7 separate regions of the Homo sapiens genome follow, and all the other regions are linked to region 2. Evidence: promoter capture Hi-C in 16 types of primary human blood cells and fetal thymus (Javierre and others, 2016). All regions are on one chromosome and are shown on one strand. The core of a region is centred on a gene start or on the middle of the fragment in contact, and the rest is flanking DNA. Distances in the headings are between cores, read along the strand shown. Region 1 overlaps ARL1 (ARF like GTPase 1). Region 2 holds the start of ACTR6 (actin related protein 6). Region 3 holds the start of CHPT1 (choline phosphotransferase 1). Region 4 overlaps TMPO (thymopoietin). Region 5 overlaps UTP20 (UTP20 small subunit processome component). Region 6 overlaps IKBIP (IKBKB interacting protein). Region 7 overlaps UTP20 (UTP20 small subunit processome component).

Evidence for each region. The method cuts DNA at HindIII sites, captures the fragments that hold promoters and counts their contacts. A CHiCAGO score of 5 or more calls a contact.
Region 1: a contact is called between a fragment that was not itself captured here and the fragment with the promoter of ACTR6 in region 2, in 2 of 17 cell types (naive CD8 T cells and activated CD4 T cells). The highest score is 6.5, in naive CD8 T cells.
Region 3: a contact is called between the fragment with the promoter of CHPT1 here and the fragment with the promoter of ACTR6 in region 2, in 1 of 17 cell types (neutrophils). The highest score is 6.7, in neutrophils.
Region 4: a fragment that was not itself captured here is called in contact with the fragment with the promoter of ACTR6 in region 2 in 1 of 17 cell types (naive CD8 T cells); the score reaches 6.0 in naive CD8 T cells.
Region 5: a fragment that was not itself captured here is called in contact with the fragment with the promoter of ACTR6 in region 2 in 2 of 17 cell types (total CD4 T cells and naive CD4 T cells); the score reaches 7.4 in total CD4 T cells.
Region 6: a contact is called between a fragment that was not itself captured here and the fragment with the promoter of ACTR6 in region 2, in 1 of 17 cell types (total B cells). The highest score is 5.9, in total B cells.
Region 7: a contact is called between a fragment that was not itself captured here and the fragment with the promoter of ACTR6 in region 2, in 3 of 17 cell types (naive CD8 T cells, total CD4 T cells and naive CD4 T cells). The highest score is 9.1, in naive CD8 T cells.

Annotation. Positions count from the first base shown.
Region 1 is chr12:101,400,471-101,403,364 of GRCh38, forward strand. It overlaps ARL1 (ARF like GTPase 1), which reads right to left. Exons shown (of 6, transcript NM_001177.6): 3 at 2,395-2,476; 4 at 592-703. Among named protein-coding and RNA genes, the nearest start is that of ARL1, 5.9 kb to the right of the region's middle. The HindIII fragment of the contact is 9,104 bases long and covers 1-2,894 here.
Region 2 is chr12:100,199,054-100,202,100 of GRCh38, forward strand. It overlaps ACTR6 (actin related protein 6), which reads left to right and starts at 1,762. Exons shown (of 11, transcript NM_022496.5): 1 at 1,762-1,866. The coding sequence starts at 1,799. RefSeq lists a silencer at 706-1,065 and enhancers at 1,558-1,852, 1,826-2,025, 2,870-3,047. The HindIII fragment of the contact is 11,223 bases long and covers 1-3,047 here.
Region 3 is chr12:101,696,190-101,699,108 of GRCh38, forward strand. It overlaps CHPT1 (choline phosphotransferase 1), which reads left to right and starts at 1,451. Exons shown (of 9, transcript NM_020244.3): 1 at 1,451-1,945. The coding sequence starts at 1,673. RefSeq lists an enhancer at 925-1,174 and silencers at 1,395-1,734, 1,995-2,184. The HindIII fragment of the contact is 18,657 bases long and covers 1-2,919 here.
Region 4 is chr12:98,520,645-98,523,835 of GRCh38, forward strand. The region is part of intron 1 of TMPO (thymopoietin); the gene reads left to right. Among named protein-coding and RNA genes, the nearest start is that of TMPO-AS1, 6.0 kb to the left of the region's middle. The HindIII fragment of the contact is 1,552 bases long and covers 903-2,454 here.
Region 5 is chr12:101,342,566-101,345,915 of GRCh38, forward strand. UTP20 (UTP20 small subunit processome component) reads left to right here. Exons shown (of 62, transcript NM_014503.3): 33 at 1-24; 34 at 222-272; 35 at 376-528; 36 at 2,030-2,185; 37 at 2,989-3,129. Among named protein-coding and RNA genes, the nearest start is that of ARL1, 64 kb to the right of the region's middle. The HindIII fragment of the contact is 3,290 bases long and covers 1-3,233 here.
Region 6 is chr12:98,635,161-98,638,079 of GRCh38, forward strand. The region is part of intron 1 of IKBIP (IKBKB interacting protein); the gene reads right to left. Among named protein-coding and RNA genes, the nearest start is that of IKBIP, 8.2 kb to the right of the region's middle. RefSeq lists a silencer at 1,054-1,113 and an enhancer at 2,141-2,310. The HindIII fragment of the contact is 496 bases long and covers 1,035-1,530 here.
Region 7 is chr12:101,380,760-101,384,112 of GRCh38, forward strand. It overlaps UTP20 (UTP20 small subunit processome component), which reads left to right. Exons shown (of 62, transcript NM_014503.3): 58 at 381-452; 59 at 2,282-2,554; 60 at 2,784-2,910. Among named protein-coding and RNA genes, the nearest start is that of ARL1, 25 kb to the right of the region's middle. The HindIII fragment of the contact is 1,570 bases long and covers 813-2,382 here.

The DNA.
Region 1 (2,894 bases), core at 274-2,773, 1.2 Mb after region 2:
GAATAAATAAGACTTCTTTCTGGGGAAGAGATGTGGGAAGAAACACGTCAGGAAGGCAGCCATGCAAAGATGCTGGAGAATAGTATTCCAAGCAGACGGATCAGCAAGTGCAAAAGGCCCTGAGCCAGGTGTGCAAGCTCGTGTCCAAAGAACAGAAAGAAGGTCAAAAGCACTGTAAACACTGGGAAGGATAAAAAACGATAAACGTGAGGCCAGCATTGTGCCAGTAACCCAGAAATACATATTTCTCTGAACTTGAATCCTTCTAAAACAGCTAAAAATAAAAAGACATATTTTAAAAGTCACATCAAAGAAGTGACTTAGAATAGATGCTTTTGTTTAAGTGAGCTCTTCTGAACCTCCTGGAAAATCAAGCAATCTGGCTTGAAGAGGAAGTTACGAGGTTAATTTTTGTTGTTGTTTTGTCTCCAACCCTCCTCAACTGTATTTTTGGAATAGAAAATCATTTCCATAAAAGAAAATAATTTTAAAAGGATGGAGGGAACAACCCCTGCATTCTTTTTAATTATTCTTCAATGTAATAATATGTAAATGACTGCCCCACATTTTAAAGTGGTTACGTTTTCTTACCTCCAACATGGCAACTAACTCTGATTTGGAAATGCCAATTCGGTCTCGGTCACAACTGTCTACTACATAAATGACTGCATCTGTGTTTGAATAGTAACATCTCCAGTATGGCCTAGAGAAAATTTAAAAGGGGAGAACATATTGTTATTGTTTTAAGGAAGAAACTGACATATCAATTGCCAATTCTGTCCCACACATGTTAGAATCAATGCCTTAATGATTCACTGTTTCTGGTGGATATATGTACCATATCCCTCAGATGTGATGGAGTCAAAAGAATGTTGATAAACATTGGCTGGGCACGGTGGCTCACATCTGTAATCCCAGCATTTTAGGAGGCTGAGGAGGGCAGATCAACTGAGGTCGGGAGTTCGAGACCAGCCTGACCAACATGGAGAAACCCCATCTCTACTAAAAATACAAAATTAGCTGGACATGGTGGCAGGTGCCTGTAATCCCAGCTACTCGGGAGGCTGAGGCAGGAAAATCACTTCAACCAGGAAGGCAGAGGTTCCAGTGAGCTGAGATGGTGCCATTGCACTCCAGCCTGGGCAACAAGAGTGAAACTCTGTCTCAAAAAAAAAAAAAAAAAAAAAAAAAAGAATGTTGATAAACATTGACTCACAGGACCAGGGAGTTTCCAAATGAATTCATTCAGACTTCAGGCTGACAAAATTTATTTATAATCTATGAAATCACTAAATATACTGATAGAAAAGTTGTACACAGACCTGATCATTACATCTTCTTAAACAAATCTTTAACTAGGCACCCCTTAAGAGGAATAAACTTTTTAAACGTGATTTTATTTAACAGTCATGAAATTAATCACTGACATCAAGCAGTAGAAATGGCTAAAATTATAAATAAACTCAAAAGTGATTCAATGGAGTCTCTCTGAGCCTACTCTGGCTTGGGAGGCTGCACAATTTAAAAAAAAAGAAACGTGATTCAAGAAATGAGTTAAAAGAAGTCAGAATGTTTGGAGAATGCATTACTAATCTTTTAAGATGGTACTATCGTGACCAACTACTGACGGTCATCAAACATTCACTGTTGCCATGTCAAGCCCAAAATGCTAAGCAGAAGACCTGAACTTCAGAAGGCATTTATTTTTTATTTATTCATTTATTTTTTTTGAGACAGAGTCTTGCTCTGTAGCCCAGGCTGGAGTGCAGTTGCGCGATCTCAGCTCACTGCAACCTCCAGCTCCCAAGTCCTGGTACAAGCAATTCTCCTGCCTCAGCCTCCCAGGTAGCTGGAATTATAGGCACGCACCACCATGCCCAGCTAATTTTTGTATTTTTAGTAGAGACGAGGTTTCACCATGTTGGTCAGGCTGGTCTCCAACTCCTGACCTGATGATCCGCCCACCTCGGCCTCCCAAAGTGCTGGGATTACAGGCGTGAGCTACCATGCCCGGCCAATGGCATTTATTTTTATATTAGCCCTAAATGGTATGCCTGCAAGGTACTTTAATGAATTCCAAAACAATGTGTTTCAGAGAGGAGAGACTGACAAGAACTAAATGGAGGGTCCTTTCTAATTGAGAATAGCTGAAGTAATAAGGTCTTGAGATTTTCGTGAAAAGATTTTCATTAAACAGGTATCTGGAAAACTGGGCTTCCTTAAGTTTTAACTCAATGGATGCTCTAAGGAAATAGTTCCCAATTTTACCTCATTTTAAACTAGGTGGCTCCATTTAAATTACAATAGAACACATATTCGGGTTTACTGATTTTAACCCTTAAAAGAATCAATAAATGTCAAATACTACCAAATAACCTGGTCTTTGTACCATACCTGATACTTGTCTGTCCTCCTAAATCCCAGACTTGGAATTTAAGGTTTTTGTACGTCACCGTCTCTACATTAAATCCAATGGCTGGAAGAGAAATCAAATCAGTGGTATGTGTAGACTAATACATTCCACCTTCAAAATATCCTATCTAATTGAGTTACAGCAATTAATGGTAACTGTTATTAGAGTTTAAAATATATATATATATAATTTGTCTTAGGATTCGAGTTAAAAAGAAATGGTAATTGTTGAATCACATTATTGGTTGAGATTTTATACCATTTAAGACGAAATAGTATGCTCTGCTCCCCCACACATGTGCAGGTGTGTGCACAAAACATCAATTAGCAAGATCAATACCATCTTCAGGATATTTTTTAAAAGCCAGCAGTTCTGCAAATAAAGTATATAATTTTAGCTCAAATAAATTAAAAAAAGAATTTAAAAAAGAAATAAAAAGGAAAACATAATTTTTAGCTCAATGGAAATCCTATTATATTAA
Region 2 (3,047 bases), core at 512-3,011:
TCTCAACACCCCATGATATAGATACTACTGCTATCTCATTTTAGAGGACGCTGAAGGGCAGAGCGGTTAACTGATGTACCAAGGTCCTAGCAGAGTTCTAAAGGAGGCCCCTGGGGCAGAAGCCTACGGTTATGAATGCTTGGGAGGGCTGCACCGGACATCCACGGGATGCTGGGGGTGAGAAGACACTAGAGAGGGGTCAGAGGGAAGGAGCAGAGGGAGATAATGGGTCAAAGTGTCTGAGGAAGGAGACTGGGCTGGGTAGCCCCAGCCACCCGGGCCTAAGCCCAGGTGGAGGGGAGGAGATAGGAACGAGGACGGGATGTGGAGAAGTGGGGAAAGGCAGGCCGACGTTGGCAGGGTGCGAGGAGGCCTTGGAGAAAGGAGGGTGGATGGGGCAGGCCCCCAGGGGAGGCAAGGAGCGCCGACAGAAGGGCCCAGGCGCTTGCAGGGCGCGAGTTCCCACCTCAAGCACCGTGGCGGCTCCCGCGCTGCGCACCTGGAAGTGCGCAGGCTGCTCCGCCGCCTCGTCGGCGCGCTGGTAGCTGAAGCAGGCTTCTGCTATGTCCAGGTGGCCGAGGGGCAGCGGGTCGTGGGGGTTCTTGAAGTAGCAGAGGCAGCAGCGGCGCCCGTCCAACACGAACCGACGGCTGCGGTAGCCACGCAGTCGCGCTGGTTCCCGCGCGGTACCCGCCCCGGGCTCTGCAGCCTCCCCATCGCCGTCGCTGCCCTCCTCTGCCCGGGTTCCGGCCCCGGTATGGCTGCCTGCGCGCCAACCGTTTGTTCCCCGGCCCCCGCGCCTTCGCGCTGCGGCTGCTGCGCTCCCTGCCCCCGCGGTGCCCCCTTCCCGCCGCCCCGCTCCTCTCTCAGGCGCTCAAAGTGGCCTGGAATTTGTAGAACGCCCCCCTCCAAGCCCGTTGGCAGTTGTCCTAGCCCGCTGGCCCTTGCCCCCGCCCGCTGGCCGTTGCCCCCGCGACGCCCCGGAAGCCAGGTCCTGCCTCCCGCACCTGCCAAGTCCCCGCCCTGCCGGAGTCTCGCTCTGTCGCCCAGGCTGGAGTGTAGTGGAGCCATCTCGGCTCACTGCAACCTCCGCCTCCCCGGTTCAAGCAATTCTCCCGCCTCAGCCTCCCGAGTACTTGGGATTACAGGCGCCCGCCACCTCGCCCGGCTACTTTTTGTATTTTTAATAGAGACGGGGTTTCGCCGTGTTGGTCAGGCTGGTCTCAAGCTCCTGACCTCAAGTGATCTGCTTGCCTTGGTCTCCTAAAGTGCTGGGATTACAGGCGTGAGCCACCGCGTCCGGCCCAAAAGCCTTTTTTGGATGAGAAAGACTCACTCAGCTTCGTCCTGAAGAGCAAGTGGGCTGGGGAAGAGGAGAGTATGAATGTGAGTCCAAGAGCAAGTTTTGCACTTTTTTCTTCAAAGAATGTCACCGTCTGAAGAATGCGATTGGAAGACACACACACACACACACACACACACACACACGCAGCCGGTTCTCTACAGGATTAGAAAAAACTTGCGCGAATTAATCTGCGTAGTTAAAAACAAATACGAAATGAGCGAGAAAGCACATAGTAGTCAAATCTCGCCACCACATAAACAGGTTAAGTTTGGAAGCACAGCCCCTAACATTCGGTGCTGCTTAGCATCTCCGACTTCCGGCGTCCTCCGTTGCTAAGGTGACCAGAGGCGCGTCCTAACGCTCCGCCCAACAAACCATAGAGTACCGGAAAAAGCTCGAGCAGAGGGGTCGGAAAGGGAAAACAACTACGGCTGCGGTGTGGTTGGTGGTGAGATGACGACCTTAGTGCTGGATAATGGAGCTTACAACGCCAAAATCGGTTACAGCCATGAAAATGTGTCGTAAGTACTTTCTTTCTCCGAGGGACAAGATATATACGCCTAGTGGTTTCATGTGCTACGTTTCATCTCCGGACATCAATGAACTGCAGACACCCCCGCGCGGCCCTGACTTAGCCAGAGGGATTCCCTGGTTGGAGCTGGGTGGGTGATTGTGATGCTTTGAATTGAAATTGATTTTGGTTTTAGTTTTGGGCTGCGAGGCCCCGGAAGTGGGATATATGTTTTATTTCGTAACAGGAAATAGCCAAAGAAAATAGGCTTATAGAGATGCGTTCCTGACAGAAGGGTCCGTAAAGTTCATCAGCCTTTGGAAACTATGGGCACGGTGTTTGGGTGTATGCGGATTTTCCTGGGTACAAGATTATAGGTTTCATTAGATTCTCAAAGGGTTCTATGACCCTCCAAAAGTCTAAAAATCACGGTCTTAGGATCTAGAGGCTTTGAAGACTTTGGCCTACTGGCCGACCTAGTTGGTAAGGTCAATTAAACAGAAGTACTGTTAATACAATGGCATTCATAACATGTATAGTCATAAAATATATGTTTGAATAAATAAGCAAACCTAAAGACACGCCTTTCCTTTATCAAATTAACAGAGCATTAAAAAAAATTCTTTCCTTCCTCCCTCCTTTCCTTCTTTTTCATTTCTTTTGAAACAGAAATGAAAGAGGGAAATCAAACTGAGTAGGAATGTAAATTGTTACAATCTTTCTGGAAAACGTTTTGGCAATGTGTATCATTATCATTGTCACCGAGGCTGGAGTGCCGTGGTGCGATCTCAGCTCACTGCAGCCTGAATTCAAGTGATTCTCCCGCCTCAGCCTCCAGAGTAGCTGGGATTATAGGCGTGCACCACCACTCCCAGCGAATTTTTTGTATTTTTGTTAGAGACGGGGTTTCATCATGTTGGCCAGGCCGGTCTCGAGCCCCTGGCCTCAAGCAGTCTACCCGCGTTGGCCTCCCAAAGTGCTGGTATTAGGGGCGTGAGCCCTACACCCAGCTGACAAAGCAATTTTTTTTTTTTTTTTTGGAGAGGGAGTCTGGCTCTCTTGTCCAGGCTGGAGTGCAGTGGCACGATCTCGGCTCGCTGCAACCTCTGCCTCCCGGGTTCAAGCCATTCTCATGCCTCAGCCTCCCAAGTAGCTGGGACTACAGTTGCGCACCACCACGCCTGGCTAAGT
Region 3 (2,919 bases), core at 201-2,700, 1.5 Mb after region 2:
AGGATTTTTTCCTTGGACTGTTCATGGCATCGGTAAATTAAAAAGTAGTTACTGTCAAGTTCACTGCACATAAACCAGCATTGTTAAAAGTGGATCTCCATCATTCCATTTCCTTTCCTGCATTTGTCAGCATCGTTTTTCACACTAAAGATGAGGAGATCCATATTCCTAAGACATATACGCTTGGTCTGTAGAGACCCTCATTGCTCTAAGGCAGTGGTTGCCAGTTTTTTCCTTAAAGGGCCTAGTAGGACATAGTCCAGGCTTTGCCAGCCATACGGTCTGTCACAACTGAATTCTGCTGCCCTTGTAGCATGAAGGCAGCCAAACAATAGGTAAGGAATAAACATGGCTTTATTCGTGGCACTGAACTTTGAATTTCATATAATTTCACAACACAAAATTGTATTCTTTTGATTTTTTCCAATCATTTAAAAATGTCAAAACCATACTTAGCTGGAGGGCTGTAGGAAAACAGGTGGTGGGCTGGGTCTGGCACACAGGCAGCAGTTCGTGGACCCCTGTGCCAAGTGTTTGACGAAGCCCGTGAGGCAAACTGCACTTGCCGATAGAGGTTGCGCCACACAAGTGTCTTGGAAGCAATTTCTGGCTTGTCCTAGGCCTTAGAAAGTGCGTGCAGATCAGAGCCATGAAGTGAAGAGCAAAGCAAGTGACAGGCCTGTCTCAGGTTGTGCAACAGAACGTGTTTATGACAGATGTCCCCTGTCCAAGTGAGTGCACTGTGAGATAAGGGGCCGGTGACCTACCAATGCGTGTGGCAAGCCAGCCTGTTCCCCCTTGCAGGGGGAGGACACTCCTGCCCTTTATTCCAGGGAAGAGTATGTGTAAAAATATTCACCCTTGTTGGTATCAAATGCGCTGAAGAAAATAGGTATCGGGGTTTCAGCCATTCGGTCTCCTTGTTAGTGTTTCTAAGCCCTGATTTTCAGTTTCAAAACCTTGGTCTCTGAATCCGCAGTGATGGGTCTCTAGAGCGAATACATGGCAGGGCCGCCTTCCTCCGTACAGAAAGGGAGAATTGTGCTTGTGTGTTTTACCAAGCAGGACAGATGGGGCCGTCACCCCCGTGACCCGAGCCCTGCAAAACTGTGTTCTCACACGAAAACCCCCAGGCTCTGCGGGCAGCGTGGTCCTGCAGTGGCTAACACTGGGCGACCGGAGTCGTGTTCCGACCCCTAGGAGAGGAACCGGCTCGGTCGTGGTGCAGCCCGCGAGGAGACGACCTCAGGGCGTAATCCGACGCCGTGGGTTAAGACATCAGACCTCAGGCGCAGTGCAGCCGGCCCCTGGGGAGTCAAGGACCTTGATCGCCGATAACAAGTTGCCGTTGGCGGGCGCCGAGGGTGACCCGCGAGCGCGGCACCCGCCTCCCCGCCCCTAGCAGGACCCCCTCCGCCCCGCCCCCAGCCGGACCCCTCCCCGAGGCCCCGCCCCACCCGCGAGCCGCAGCCGCGGCCCCACAGCTTCTGGGGCTGGGGCCCCGGCAGCCGGGCAGGCCGGCCTGACCTCGACCTCCGCCGTGCGGGCCCGACCGGTGAGTCCAGCCCGGCAGTCGCAGGACCCGGCCGCCAGCCTCTCCCTCCACCTCTCCCTGCCCCCAGCGCCAGGCGCGGGCTGCGCTCGGTGGCGGCGGCGGGGCCCTCAGGCGGCCATGGCGGCAGGCGCCGGGGCCGGGTCCGCGCCGCGCTGGCTGAGGGCGCTGAGCGAGCCGCTGAGCGCGGCGCAGCTGCGGCGACTGGAGGAGCACCGCTACAGCGCGGCGGGCGTCTCGCTGCTCGAGCCGCCGCTGCAGCTCTACTGGACCTGGCTGCTCCAGTGGATCCCGCTCTGGATGGCCCCCAACTCCATCACCCTGCTGGGGCTCGCCGTCAACGTGGTCACCACGCTCGTGCTCATCTCCTACTGTCCCACGGCCACCGAAGAGGTAGGGCTGGCCGATCGCCCGAGCCGGGCCCCAGATGCGCTGCGGGCGGGTCGCTGGAGGCGCCGGGGGAAGGGCGGACCCACGCGCGGCTGAGCCTCTCCCGGGCCCCGGAGGGGCGGACTGGCCACTGCCCCGGGCGGTGTCCGCCCTGGGCCGCCTGGAGACTGTCACGCCACTATCCCAATCCCGTGACCATCCCAAGCCTCCCCTGGGCAGCGGAGGGGCTGTTAAGGTCACTGCCCCAGGTCCTATGTCCGCGCAGATCCTCCCCACGGCCGCGGACGGGCCGGAGGGCGCCTGCCCAGCCGCTATCCCATGCGGCGCCAACCTGTGAGACGGACCCGCGGTCGGGTGCTTTGCACACTGGGGACTGAACACCCCCATCTCCGTCCTGCCTGGCACAGGGACTTGTGCCAAGCCCGAGACGCCCTTTGAATACTTTCGTAACCGTTCGTTTCTGGAAGGTTGAGCTAGTGATCTTGAAATGACCGGTAGCACTGATCAAAGATGAGTTAAGAGGTAACTTCCTCTTTGCTTCATCGACTTTTTCAAGAAAAACAAACTGGAATGTTATCAAGGCAATAATTTTTTTGTCATCACAACCTAGGGATTAAAAAAACCCCAACATTTTATTAGCAATAATTACATTTGACCTTTGTACAAAATAAGGAGTAAATATAGGCTTTGGATAGCTGTTCATCAGAAGCACCCTTTGGGCTGAGTGTGGAGGGATAGGGGGCAGAGTGGAGTTCACTCCCATCTATAGTTTATACTACGTGGGATAAATATTACATTGCACATTCTGTGACATTACTTTCTATTCTCTGCTCCAAATAGTGAAGTCCCTTTATAATCATTTGAGTGTAGGCCTTGTGGAGGACTCATGGAGGTTGAGGTTGGATTAACAGAAATACAGTGGAAATATTTCATGCCCTCCATGCATGCATCCATTTTGTTGTTGTTTTTGAGACAGG
Region 4 (3,191 bases), core at 429-2,928, 1.7 Mb before region 2:
ACGGAGTCTCAGTCTGTCATCCCAGCTGGAGTGCAGTGGTGCAATCTCGGCTCCCTGCAAGCTCTGCCTAGCTGAGACTACAGGTGCCCGCCACCACGCCTGGCTAATTTTATGTATTTTTAGTAAAGACTGTTAGCCAGGATGGTCTCTATCTCCTGATCTGGTGATCTGCCCGCCTCGGCCTCCCAGAGTTCTGGAATTACAGGCATGAGCCACCGCTCCCGGCCTCCAGGTCATATTTCTTAAAGAATATTTATAATCTTCTGCATAATGGAGTGGTAAAAAGGAATAAAAGAATATTTATTTATATTATAGGAGAAAGCCAAATTATGTTTGAGAGTTGCAGATAAGGGAGATTTTTAACATTTTAAGACAAATCAAGCATTAATGTGGATTTGGCCAAGATTAACTATTTGCATGCATATACCTTCTATTTAATCATGGGTTTATGAGGAATTTTTTTTTTTTTTTTTTTTTTTTTGAGACGGAGTGTCGCTCTGTCACCCAGGCTGGACTGCAGTGGCGTGATCTCCACTCACTGCAAGCTCTGCCTCCTGGGTTCACGCCATTCTCCTGCCTCAGCCTCCCGATTAGCTGGGGCTACGTGGTGGCACCTGCCACCACCCCCGGCTAATTTTTTTGTATTTTTAGTAGAGACGGAGTTTCACTGTGTTAGCCAGGATGGTCTGGATCTCCTGATCTTCTGATCCTCCCGCCTCAGCCTCCCAGAGTGCTGGGATTACAGACGTGAGCCACCGTGCCCAGCCTATGGGGAACATTTTTAATTAAATAAGAAATTGTTTCATTTCAGCTTCTACCATAGTCTCTTGGATTCACTTGGTATAATGTGACAAAACTTTGCATGTTAAAAGTTTTGTTTTTATTTTGTTTTCTTATTTCTAAGCTTTTTATTTTATGTATCTTGCTACCAATATTTTTAGGTGTTGAAACTACCTAGATTGTGGACACAAAAATAAACATTTACAGAGTTGGCAGTCTGCCTTTTTGTTTTAAGAGGCAGAGCCTGAAGGTGTAGCTATTTGGATCTAGTGGAGCATAATATTCTTGAATGATCTGTTCTGGTGAATTATGAGTGTGTGTTTGAGAAGGAGTCTTGCGCTGTCATCCAGGCTGGAGTGCAGTGGCGCGATCTCGGCTCACTGCAACCTCCACCTCCCGGGTTCAAGTGATTCTCCTGCCTCAGCCTCCTGAGGAGCTGGGATTACAAGCGTGCACCACCATGCCCAGCTAATTTTTTTATTTTTAGTAGAGACAGTTTCACCATGTTGGTCAGGCCGGTCTCAAACTCCTTCCTGACTTTGTGATCTGCCCCCCTTAGCCTCCTAAAGTACTGGGATTACAGGCGTGAGCCACCACGCCTGTCTGTGTGTTTGTTTGTTTTTTTAAGAGATAGGGTCTCGCTCTGTCCCTCAGACTGTAGTGCAGTGGTATGATCATAGCTCACTGCAGCCTCAAACTCCTGGGCTCAAGCCTCTGGAATAGCTGGGACTACAGGTGTGTGCCACCATGCCTAGCTGATTTTTAAAATTTTTATAGAGATAGTCTCACTATGTTGACCAGGCTGGTCTTGAATTCCTGGCCTCAAGGGATCCTCCTGCTTAGGCCTCCCAAAGCGTTGGGATTGTAGGTGTGAGCTGCTGCTCCTGGCCAAATTATGAATTCTCAATAGGAAATATTTGAAGACCTGGAAAAGAACATAAAAGCATGCTACCAATAGGAAATGTTAATTAAATCACAAATTTACCACCACTGTATAATAAGGTGTTAAGTTTACAGACTTGTGAATAATAGAGTTATAGATTCAAATTCCAGGTCTGCCACTTATTCATATGACACTGAACAGTGTCTTAATCTAAGATCCTCTATTTTCACCTGAAATAGAGGAATAACCTAATAGCTACTTAATCAGATTGAGGAGTACATGCCATTGCATATGTGAAGTGTCTAGTGCTTAGTAATTAATAGCCATTAAATGATTTCTGAATTTTTGTCTTTAATGTCAGGGCAATATAGTGCAATGTTACTAAAATATAATTTTGGGAAACGAATAAGGTAGATAAGTGAAAGTGACATGTATATCATAGCATGCAGATTTCCTGAGTTAGTGAAGAGCATGCTTGAACCTCAGTTTTCTGAGTTGTCAGATGGGGATATTAGCATTTTATTCCATAGATTTTTAGGACTCTGTAAGTTAATGCAAAGACACTTGGAACACAACTCAGTACGTAATACATAATAAGTGCCCACTAGAATATATTGTTATGGTTCAACATCTTTATACTAGAGGTAGAGATTAAAGGAATTAGAGAAGCTCATCGGTGATATCATAGAGCTGTTGGGTTTTGAAGTTGAAAAATACGTTAGAGATCATCGGGTAGCATAGTAGGTACTATTTTTGAGTGAAACTCTTAAGTGATCTACTTAAAGGAACAAAGCTTTCTGGAGGCAGAATTTAATGCAACTGATGCTTCCTTTTTCCTGACTGAAACTGCTAATCATGTACAGCACACTGTCTCCTAATTTTTTATCCTTATTAAATCTGAGATTTATAAAATGACATCACTTTTCTGGAACTTTTTTCCTGACAGATTAAAAACCACATGTTTGACTGTGTGCAGTGGCTCACACCTGTAATCCCAGCACTTTGGGAGGCCGAGGCAGGTGGATCACCTGAGGTCAGGAATTCGAGACCAGCCTGGCCAACATGGTGAAATCCTGTCTCTTCTAAAAATACAAAAATTAGTTAGTCGGGTATGGTGTTGCGCGCTTGTAATTTCAGCTGCTTGGGAGGCTGAGGCAGGAGAATCTCTTGAACCTGGGAGATGGAGGGCATGCCACTGCACTCTAGCCTGGGCAACAGAGTGAGACTCCATCTCAAAAAAAAAAAAATCACGTTTTTGGTTTTAATTTATCTGACTTACCTTATGTAGATTTGTTGGTCACTTATTTAAGATATCTTTGTTCAGCTGATGTTTTTCATTATGTTTGAAGGAAATATAATTGATTTTCTTTCTTTCTTTTTTTTCTTTAGGCGAAGTCTGGCCTTATCACCCAGGCTGGAGTGCAGTGGCGCAATCTTGGCTCGCTGCAATCTCCGCCTCCCCAATTCAAGTGATTCTCCAGCCTCAGCCTGCCGAGTAGCTAGGACTATAGGCGTGTGCCATCACACC
Region 5 (3,350 bases), core at 339-2,838, 1.1 Mb after region 2:
AAATTGCTTTGTACGGTTTTTGAGGTCTGTACTATTCATTTTTACTCCAAATCACCCTTTTAAAAAAATGTAATTATGACTTGTAAACCATATTAGGGGCTTTCTTCATGCCAGGGTGATGTTTTTATATGAATTTGAATGGGGACAGGTAGCTGAGGGGAGGAGGGCAGAAAAGTTAAAGTTTTATTCACTGATAAATACACTGTTTTCTTTCCTTTCAGACTCTTTCTGATTTTGAGAGTGGGTTAAAATATATTACTGATGTTGTCAAGGTAAGAAAGAAGGGTTTCTCTTTGGCTTCAAAAGTATTATCATTTTTGTTTACTGAAGATTTATATGCCTTCTTTTATATAACTTCAATGGCATTTCTTATAGCTTAACGCCTTCGATCAAAGACATCTTGATGATATCAACTTCGACGTTCGCTTTGAGACTTTCCAGACCATCACCTCTTACATTAAAGAAATGCAAATTGTGGATGTTAACTACCTAATTCCAGTTATGCATAATTGTTTCTATAATCTAGAGGTAGGTTATTATAGCAAAATTTTTAAATTATTTTTTATTGTTTTGGTAATACGGCTGCCTAATACAGTGACCTGATCTTTAAATTTGTTTTTTGAGGGGGGACAAAGGTTTTTAGGATTAAATTTCTTTTAGATGAAGAATCTTATGTCTGGCAAAACAGTTATTCTCATGATTTAAAAGGCAAATATTGTGAATAAAATAATACATATGAAAGCATTTTGAAAAAAATCAAGAAGTTATGTATTAGAATAGGGAAATCCATAGAGATGAAGTACATTAGGTCACTAAAGGCTGCAGAAAGGGAGGAATGGGGCGTGATTTCTAATGGGTATAGGGTTTCTTTTGGGAGTGATGAAAATGTTCTGGAATTAGTGGTGATGATCACACAACCTCGTGAATATACTTAAAACCACTGAATTGTAAATTTTTTTTTTGGAGACAGGATCTCGTTCTGTCACCCAGGCTAGAGTGCAGTGATGTGATCTTGGTTCACTGCAGCCTCTGCTGCCAGGTTCAACCAATTCTCCCACCTCAGCCTCCCGAATAGTAGCTGGGATTACAGGGGCACGCCACCACACCCACCTAATTTTTGCATTTTATTAGAGACGAGGTTTCACCATGTTGGCCAGGCTAGTCTCGAACTTCTGACCTCAGGCGATCCGCCCATCTTGGCCTCCCAAAGTGCTGGGATTATAGGTGTGGGCCACCGCACCCAGCCAAATAGTAAGTTTTTTAAAAGGGTGAATTTTATGGTGTGTCAATTATGTCAATTTTTAAACATGCAACTATACTAATTGAAAATTATCCCTTTTTTATTGAAGTTATAAGAGAATTAAAAAGTGTTTGGAATATATTAAGTGCTATGTTGCTGAACTAAATTAAAATCCAAAAATGCAGAAAATGAAACCTTTGATTATTGTTAATCATGTAGTGGCATCAGTGATCTCTTTGTGGCATTTTATAGTTATTCATCTAATATTAAGGATTACGTAATATATGAAAAAATAATCTCCCTGTTTTATACTCATTCTTCATAATCATGCCAAAATTCAGCACAAAAAATTCTAAGTCGCTGCCTGGCTGGCTGAGTCAAGGATACCTTCCCTACACTCACTTTGACATTCTTCAAACCACAAACTCTGGAGCAGCCAATTCTGTCATTTTCAGTAATGACCGGATACTGAATATTGAAAACTGGCTTTAGTGAACCTTTTAGACTGCCTGCTTTGGGAAGTAAAACTAATTAACAAGGACATTTCATAGTGCTGCCTGAAATTAAATGACACTTCTTGGGAAGCGTGGTTTTTCAGCCTTTTACAGTATTATATTCCTCACAGAACATTTGGTTCTCCCTTAGGTTTGAAATATTTGTGGGAACTTGTTTAGTAGGCATTTTTACAAGCACAGTGACAGAATTTTGTAGATGCTTGCACTGGGAAGTAATATTCCATATTGTAGTTATTACAGAGAATAATTTCTTTTTTATTTCTCTTTTTTGCAGTTAGGAGATATGAGTTTAAGTGATAATGCCAGCATGTGCCTGATGAGTATCATCAAAAAGCTAGCTGCCTTGAATGTCACAGAGAAAGACTATAGAGAAATCATCCACCGTTCACTCCTGGAGAAATTGAGAAAAGGTCTGAAGAGCCAGACAGAGGTATATAACTTTGTGTTTTAGGCACTACTGTCTGAGGCTGTGTTTTGTTTTGTTTTCCCACGTTTGCTACTGTTGTATAGAAAAGTAGTCAGGCTTAGTGCATTTAATGAGAATACTTGGTTGAGTAAATAGTCACCAGACTTTTAATGGGAGTGGGTCTAGAAAGGAGAGCACTTTTTTTTGCTTTTTTTTTTTTTTTTTTTTTTTTTTTTTGAGACGGAGTCTCGCTCTGTTGCCCAGGCTGGACTACAGTGGCGTGATCTTGGCTCACTGCAACCTCCGCCTCCCGGGTTCAAGTGATTCTCCTGCCTCAGCCTCCAGAGTAGCCGGGATTACAGGCACATGCCACCACGCCCAGCTAATTTTTGTATTTTTAGTAGAGACGGGGTTTCACCATGTTGGCCAAGCTGGTCCCGAACTCCTGACCTCAAGTGATCCACCTGCCTTGGCCTCCCAAATTGCTGGGATTACAGGTATGAGCACCATGCCTGGCCACCAGTCACTTTGGATCTAATATAGCTGTCAGGTTTTTTTTGTTTTTTGTTTTTGAGACAGGGGCTCACTTTGTTGCCTAGGCTGGAGTACACCACCACACCTGGCTGATTTTTGTATTTTTTGTAGAGACAGGATTTCACCATGTTGTCCAGGCTGTCCTCAAACTCCTGGGCTCAAGCAATCCTGACTTTTTTTTTTAACAGTGGAAATATTTTACTTTTTAAAATTTTATGTTTTTTTCTGTTTCCTCATATTAGAAACAAATTCTTTTTAAAATAAAATGTTTTTTCTCCACTTCATATTTACAGAGTATTCAGCAGGATTATACCACAATACTTTCCTGTTTAATTCAAACCTTTCCAAACCAACTGGAATTCAAAGACTTGGTACAACTTACTCATTACCATGACCCAGAAATGGACTTCTTTGAGAACATGAAGCACATTCAGGTAGAAGACAATTCTGCTTTTTCCTACCTACGACATAAGCATACATATTTCAAACAGTTCTACCTCATTTGGAAAGACATGTTTTAACTTTCCAAAAAGGTTTAAGCTTCTCTTTCCTTGGTCTTTATGATCATCATTGAAATTTGTGTTAAGATGATCATTTCCTGGATTCTAATTTCTTTGGTGGTATCACAAACCACAGTTAATAATAGTGTCGCTTT
Region 6 (2,919 bases), core at 33-2,532, 1.6 Mb before region 2:
CGCCCCACCAATTTTTTAATATTTTTAGTAGAGATGGGGTTTCACCATGTTGGCTAGGCTGGTTTTGAACTCCTGACCAGTGATCTGCCCGCCTTGGCCTCCCAAAGTGCTAGGATTACAGGCATGAGCCACTGTGCCCAGCCCCAAGGTGGTCTTGAATTCCTGGCCTCAAGTGATCCTCCCCTCAGCCTCCCAAAGCGCTGGGATTACAAGTGTGGGTCAACATGTCCAGCCTAGATGCAGCTTTTATCAGTTTCTTTTGACAGATTTTCATGTGGTAGGTACTGGTTTAACTCATGCAAAGATGAGTAAAGCACTGCCCTTGTTCACAATTCACAGCCCACCAAATAAGATGGTGTGATATCTGTAATAGATGCATGCACAAGAAATATTTTAGAGGAGGACAAAGTGAAAAATTTAGAACAAGATCTTTGATCTCTACTGTTTTTCACAAGGCCATGATTGGGTAATATCTAGAAAATAGGTGTTTTTATGCTGAAATGTAGGCGAAACAAGAGTCGTCTATAAAAAGTATTTTAAAACTGAAATGTAGAAGAGTTGACTGATAAAAAGCAGTGGAGTAGAAGAGAGAAGTGATAGTAATTAGAAGTTGCAAAATAGCAGGAGGTGTGAAAAGAGGTATGAAAATAGAAAAAAGCCATTGCCAAAGTGACAATAGATCACAATCAGTGCAGAGTGTATAAACTGCACAATTGGTTATACTCAGTGATGTGACTCGTATAGGTGTACTTGAGATGTCACTCTAAAATTGGAGTTTATTCTTCATTATGGGTGGAAGCCCAAAAAGCTATCTCAATCTTCAAAACAACAAATCAACATCTGTTTATACAGGATTTGAAATGAGCAAGCATAAAAGAATTGTCTTGGATCCAATACCATTTTGTCTACTTTAACTCAATTCTTTAGGCTCAGAAAAAAACACTTGAAATTCTTTGCATATTGAGTCATCAAAACGCAATGGAGCAGAACCATAAGTACCTGCCTAAACACAGTCCTGAGACAAGTGGTTCAAAAGCTTTGCTACATATTGTAATAACCTGGCAGCTTTAACAAATCTGATGCCTGGGTCTCACAAAGATTCTGATTTAATTGGCTTGGGATGTGGCTTGGATGTTGGAAACTCAACAGCTTCTCAGGTAATCTAAGTGCACAGCCAAACTTAGAACCATACTGACTGACCATGTTTTGTGAAATTCATTTCCACTGAAAGGCAATCATTTAAAGATCCCAAGGATTAATGGAGAGGTGAAAGACTTTTCTGAGTAAATGCAGTTATCTGAACTTTGTGCATCCTTGCAAAAGTGGTAATGCTTTGAATTCATAAATGGCATCATTAGGCTAACCGTAGCTACAAAACTGTCCAAAGCTAAATTAGACAAATGTTTACAATACTGGAGGAAATACATTTCTTTTGATGATGCTGGCTAATTTCTATTATACGGGATCCCAGGTTACATTATTAGCACAGATTGACTTTTCTCCTGTGTTTAAATTAATAGGAACCTTTAAAGCTTCTGGTTATTAGAAAACACTATTATCCTAATTCTCTGAGATGGAAGGGTGAACATAATTCTTTTTTCATTGGCTGTTTCATTTCTGGCTTTTAGGATTTTTTTTTTTTCCCCCAGAGTATTGGATATCTAAGACCAGCAGATAGAGACCTTATTAAGAAAGAGACCACCCTAAAGAAATAAGAGTTGCCCTCCTCACGCCTTCCTGTCCCTCCCTGCCAGGGGGGAAAAAAAAAAAGTAAAAGAAGAAACACAGTTCATTTCAGGGACTAGTTTTATTATCCAATACTCCACCATAGATCTATACTATAGATTAGCGAGTTTATTCAGAATGAAATCATTATTATAAGAGACTTTCGTATGAAGGTTGATTCATTACAAAAAATACATTAATGAACTTTCTCAGAACTTCTTTTCAAATTCAAGCTTTAAACACAACCTGTGTCATGTTAGTGGAAATATCATCTCTGATAATTAGTAGTTTTTTTTGATTAGCCTCTTACTAAAATAAAAAAAAATTCATCCTTGCTACATGTGAACGGTGCATATAAGAAAAAAGTACAAAGCTGACTCAGCACTAGTGATGAAAAAAATGAAGTGATATGTGCTGTGCTGCGTTAAAATATATTTTATTTTTCCCTTATTTGTGCCAGACACTATTCTAAGTACTTGATAAATATTAATTCATTTAACATTAAAGAAGATGATTGATTTTTCTTTCTTTTTGTTTTTTTTGAGATGGAGTCTCACTCTGTCACCAGGCTGGAGTGCAGTGGCACGATTTTGGCTTACTGCAACCTCTGCCTCCCGAGTTCAAGTGATTCTCTTGCCTCAGCCTCCCGAGTAGCTGGGACTACAGGCGTGTGCCAACACACCCAGCTAATTTTTGTATTTTTAGTAGAGATGGGGTTTCACCATGTTGGCCAGAATGGTCTCGATCTCTTGACCTCATGTTCCGCCTGCCTCAGCCTCCCAAAGTGCTGGGATTACAGGCGTGAGCCACCGCGCCCGGCTTTTTTCTTTCTTTCCTTTTTTTGAGACAGGGTCTCGCTCTGCTGCCTAGGCTGGAGTGCAGTGGCATGATCTTGGCTAACTGCAACCTCCACCTCCCAGGTTCAAGTGATTACAGGCGTGAGCCACCGCACCCAGCCTAGATGACTGATTTTCTAGAAGTCAAGAAAATATGCTGAGAAAGCTGCTTCAGATCTGAAAAACTAAGCTTTCAAACTGGCATCCATGTTAGGGTATAAGGTCCTTTATTTCCTTTTTATGAGTCAGGGGCATATTCTAGTGAGAGCAGTTCCCAGTCTTCCCATTTAGATGAGAGTGAAAAACAAGCAATTAGGGTCTGCTAAAGGGTATACCTTCAAGTAGAAGGAAGAAAAGA
Region 7 (3,353 bases), core at 348-2,847, 1.2 Mb after region 2:
AGGCTAAGGCAGGAGAATTGCTTGACCCCAGGAAGCAGAGGTTGCAGTGAGCCGAGATCACTCCAGTGCAGTCCAGCCCGGGCCACAGAGTGAGACTCTGTCTTAAAAAAAAAAAAAAAAAAAAAAATGTAGAGTATTATTACCTGTTTCTCCCCAAAATGTGAAAGTATCCCATTTATTTGGGATGAAATGCTTAGGGCAGGTAGAAGGGAGCAGTACACCACTTCTGGTCATGAACCTTTCCTCTCCAAATCTATACAGGTGGTCATTCAGAGCAAAATCCAGTACGTTAGTTGTATTACAGTTATTATGTTTAGCTTTTTAAAAACAATCAGAAATGTCCTGTGTTTTGTCTACCAATGTCCATTTTCTTTTCACAGATGAAAAGTATCTCTCTCGCCTCTTGCCATCAATTGCATTCCAAATTCTTGGATCAGTCTCTAGGAGAACAGGTAAGAATTGTAGTTCTCCCAGTTTAAAAGAAGGGGCCGGCTGGGCATGGTGGCTCGCGCCTGTAATCCCAGCACTTTGAGAGGCCGAGGCGGCCAGATCACCCCGAGGTCAGGAGTTCGAGATGAGCCTGGCCAACATGGCGAAACCCCATCTCTACTAAAAATACAAAAAAATTAGCAGGGCATGGTTGCGGGTGCCTGTAATCCGAGCTACTTGGGAGGCTGAGGCAGGGAGAATTGCTTGAACGTGGGAGGCGGAGGATGCAGTAAGCCGAAATCACGCCACTGCACTCCATCCTAGGTGACAGAGCGAGACTCCGTCTCAGAAATAAAGAAGGGGCCTATTCTATCAACAGTCTAAGCTTACATTTGTTATTTTGTTTTGTTTTGAACCTATCTTAATGCTTGGGGGATTAGATGAAATACAGACATACACTCAAATATATGTTCAAATACACATATGTCTTGTCAACACTGGGTCTGTATTGGGATTACTCTTTGCTCCATTTAAAATTCCCAATAAGGGTCTGGGTGCGGTGACTCACGCCTATAATCCCAGCACTTTGGGAGGCCGAGGCAGGTGCATCACTTGAGGCCAGGAGTTCAAGACCATCTTGGCCAATATGGTGAAACTTCATCTCTACTAAAAAGACAAAAATTAGCTGGGCATGGTGGCGCATGCCTGTAGTCCCAGCTACACAGGAGGCTGAGGCAAGAGACTCACTTGAACTGGGGAGGCAGAGGTTGCACTAAGCCAAAATCACCACACTGCACTCCAGCCTGGGCAACAGAGCTAGACTCTGTATCAAAAAAAAAAAAAAAAAAGAGAGAGAAATAGTTATTTCTATGTAGAATGGCGGAAGGAATTTAATGGAGGTAGAGATGAAAGCTGTTGTTAAAAATGTAAAATGGGGCTGGTGTGGTGACTCTCACCTGTAACATCAGCACTTCAGGAGGCCGAGATGAGCAGATCTCTCGAGGCCAGGAGTTCAAGACCAGCCTGGCCAACATGGCGAAACCCTGTCTCTACTAAAAATACAAAAATTAGCTGAGCACGGTAGCCTGTAGTCCCAGTTGCTGGGGTGGCTGAGGCATAAGAATTGCTTGAACCCAGAGGCAGAGGTTTCACTGAGCCGAGATCGCACCACTGCACTCCAGCCTGGGTAACAAAGTGAGACTCTGTCTCAAAAAATACCCAAAAAACAAAACAAAACAAAACAAAAAATGTAAATGGAGGGCCTAGAAGGAAATTGTTTCCTTATTCTGTGTGACTTTAAAGGGTAGAACTAGTCCAGATAGATCAAAGTTACATGGAAATGGGTTTGGATGCCCTATGAGGAAGAACTTAAGAATGATCTAGGCCAGGCACGGTGGCTCACACCTGTAATCGCATCACTTTGGGAAGCTGAAGCAGGCAGATCACCTGAGGTCAGGAGTTTGAGACCAGCCTGGCCAACATGGCGAAACCCCGTCTCTACTAAAAGTATAAAAATTAGCCAGGCATGGTGGTGCACGCCTGTAATCCCAGCTTCTCAGGAGGCTGAGGCATGAGAATCATTTAAACCTGGGAGGGGGATGTCACAGTGAGCCGAGATTGCACCACTGCCCTCAGCCTGGGTAACAGAGTGAGGCTCTGTCTTTAAAAAAAAAAAAAAAAGGAATATCTAAAAATGGAGCCTTCATCATTTAATAGTTGTTAAATAGTTGTAATACCTAGTTTGTTTTTGTTTTCTAATTGTAGAATACCTATTTTAGCTTATGCTCTACTAAGCCTTATTTATTTCAAAATCAATGTCCAATTTCTTCCCCCACCCCGTTTTTTTTTAAAGGTTGTTAAGAATTTGTTGTTCGCAGCCAAAGTCTTGTATTTACTGGAACTTTATTGTGAGGATAAGCAAAGTAAGATAAAAGAAGACCTGGAAGAACAAGAAGCTTTAGAAGATGGTGTGGCCTGTGCAGATGAGAAGGCGGAGTCTGACGGAGAAGAGAAGGAAGAGGTGAAGGAAGAGCTCGGCAGGCCGGCCACGCTGCTGTGGTTGATCCAGAAGCTGTCCCGGATTGCAAAACTGGAAGCTGCTTATTCGCCGAGAAACCCCTTAAAGGTGCGATGAATGCACAGAATGACTGACAGTAGTCATTTCTCTTTAAAAAGTATTTTAATGATATTAGTGATCCTCCTAAGTCCCTAGAAACTTTATCTTTGAACCCCAAACTGCAGCAATAACATCCGTCCCAAAATAGACTGAGCCCTGTTTTCTCAATTAATGCTGTGTCTATGATTGAGTGCTAAAGAGAAGTCTTTCAAATGAAAAAAATGATCTGTACTTTCAGAGAACATGCATCTTTAAGTTCCTCGGCGCCGTAGCAATGGATCTTGGGATAGACAAGGTAAAGCCGTATCTCCCAATGATCATAGCTCCTTTGTTTCGGGAACTCAACAGCACCTATTCAGAGCAAGGTAACCCTGCCTCGTCTGTTCTCCTGCCTTTTGCACATGAGGATTTCTAACTTCTCTCCTGAATGTTTCCTTCTTCCTTTCTGTCCTCCCTCCCTGCCTGAGATTTATTTTTATTTATATATATATTTTAATTATATATTATATACTTATATATGTTTATATTTATATATATACACACACACACACACACATACATTTAAAAAAGAGAGAGAGATGAATAGTGGTCTATGTTATGCCAGGCTGGTCTTGGTCTCAAACTCCTGGCTTCAAGCAGTCTTCCAACCTCAGCCTCCCAAAGTGTTGAGACTATAGAAGTGAGCTACTGTACCCAGCCAGAGTTTATTTTTAAAAAGAAAACTTATATCAAGATAATTAACAAATAGGCATATTTGTATTATATTTGATTGCCCTCTTCTGTATGCTTTCTGCTGTCCCAGAAAGAA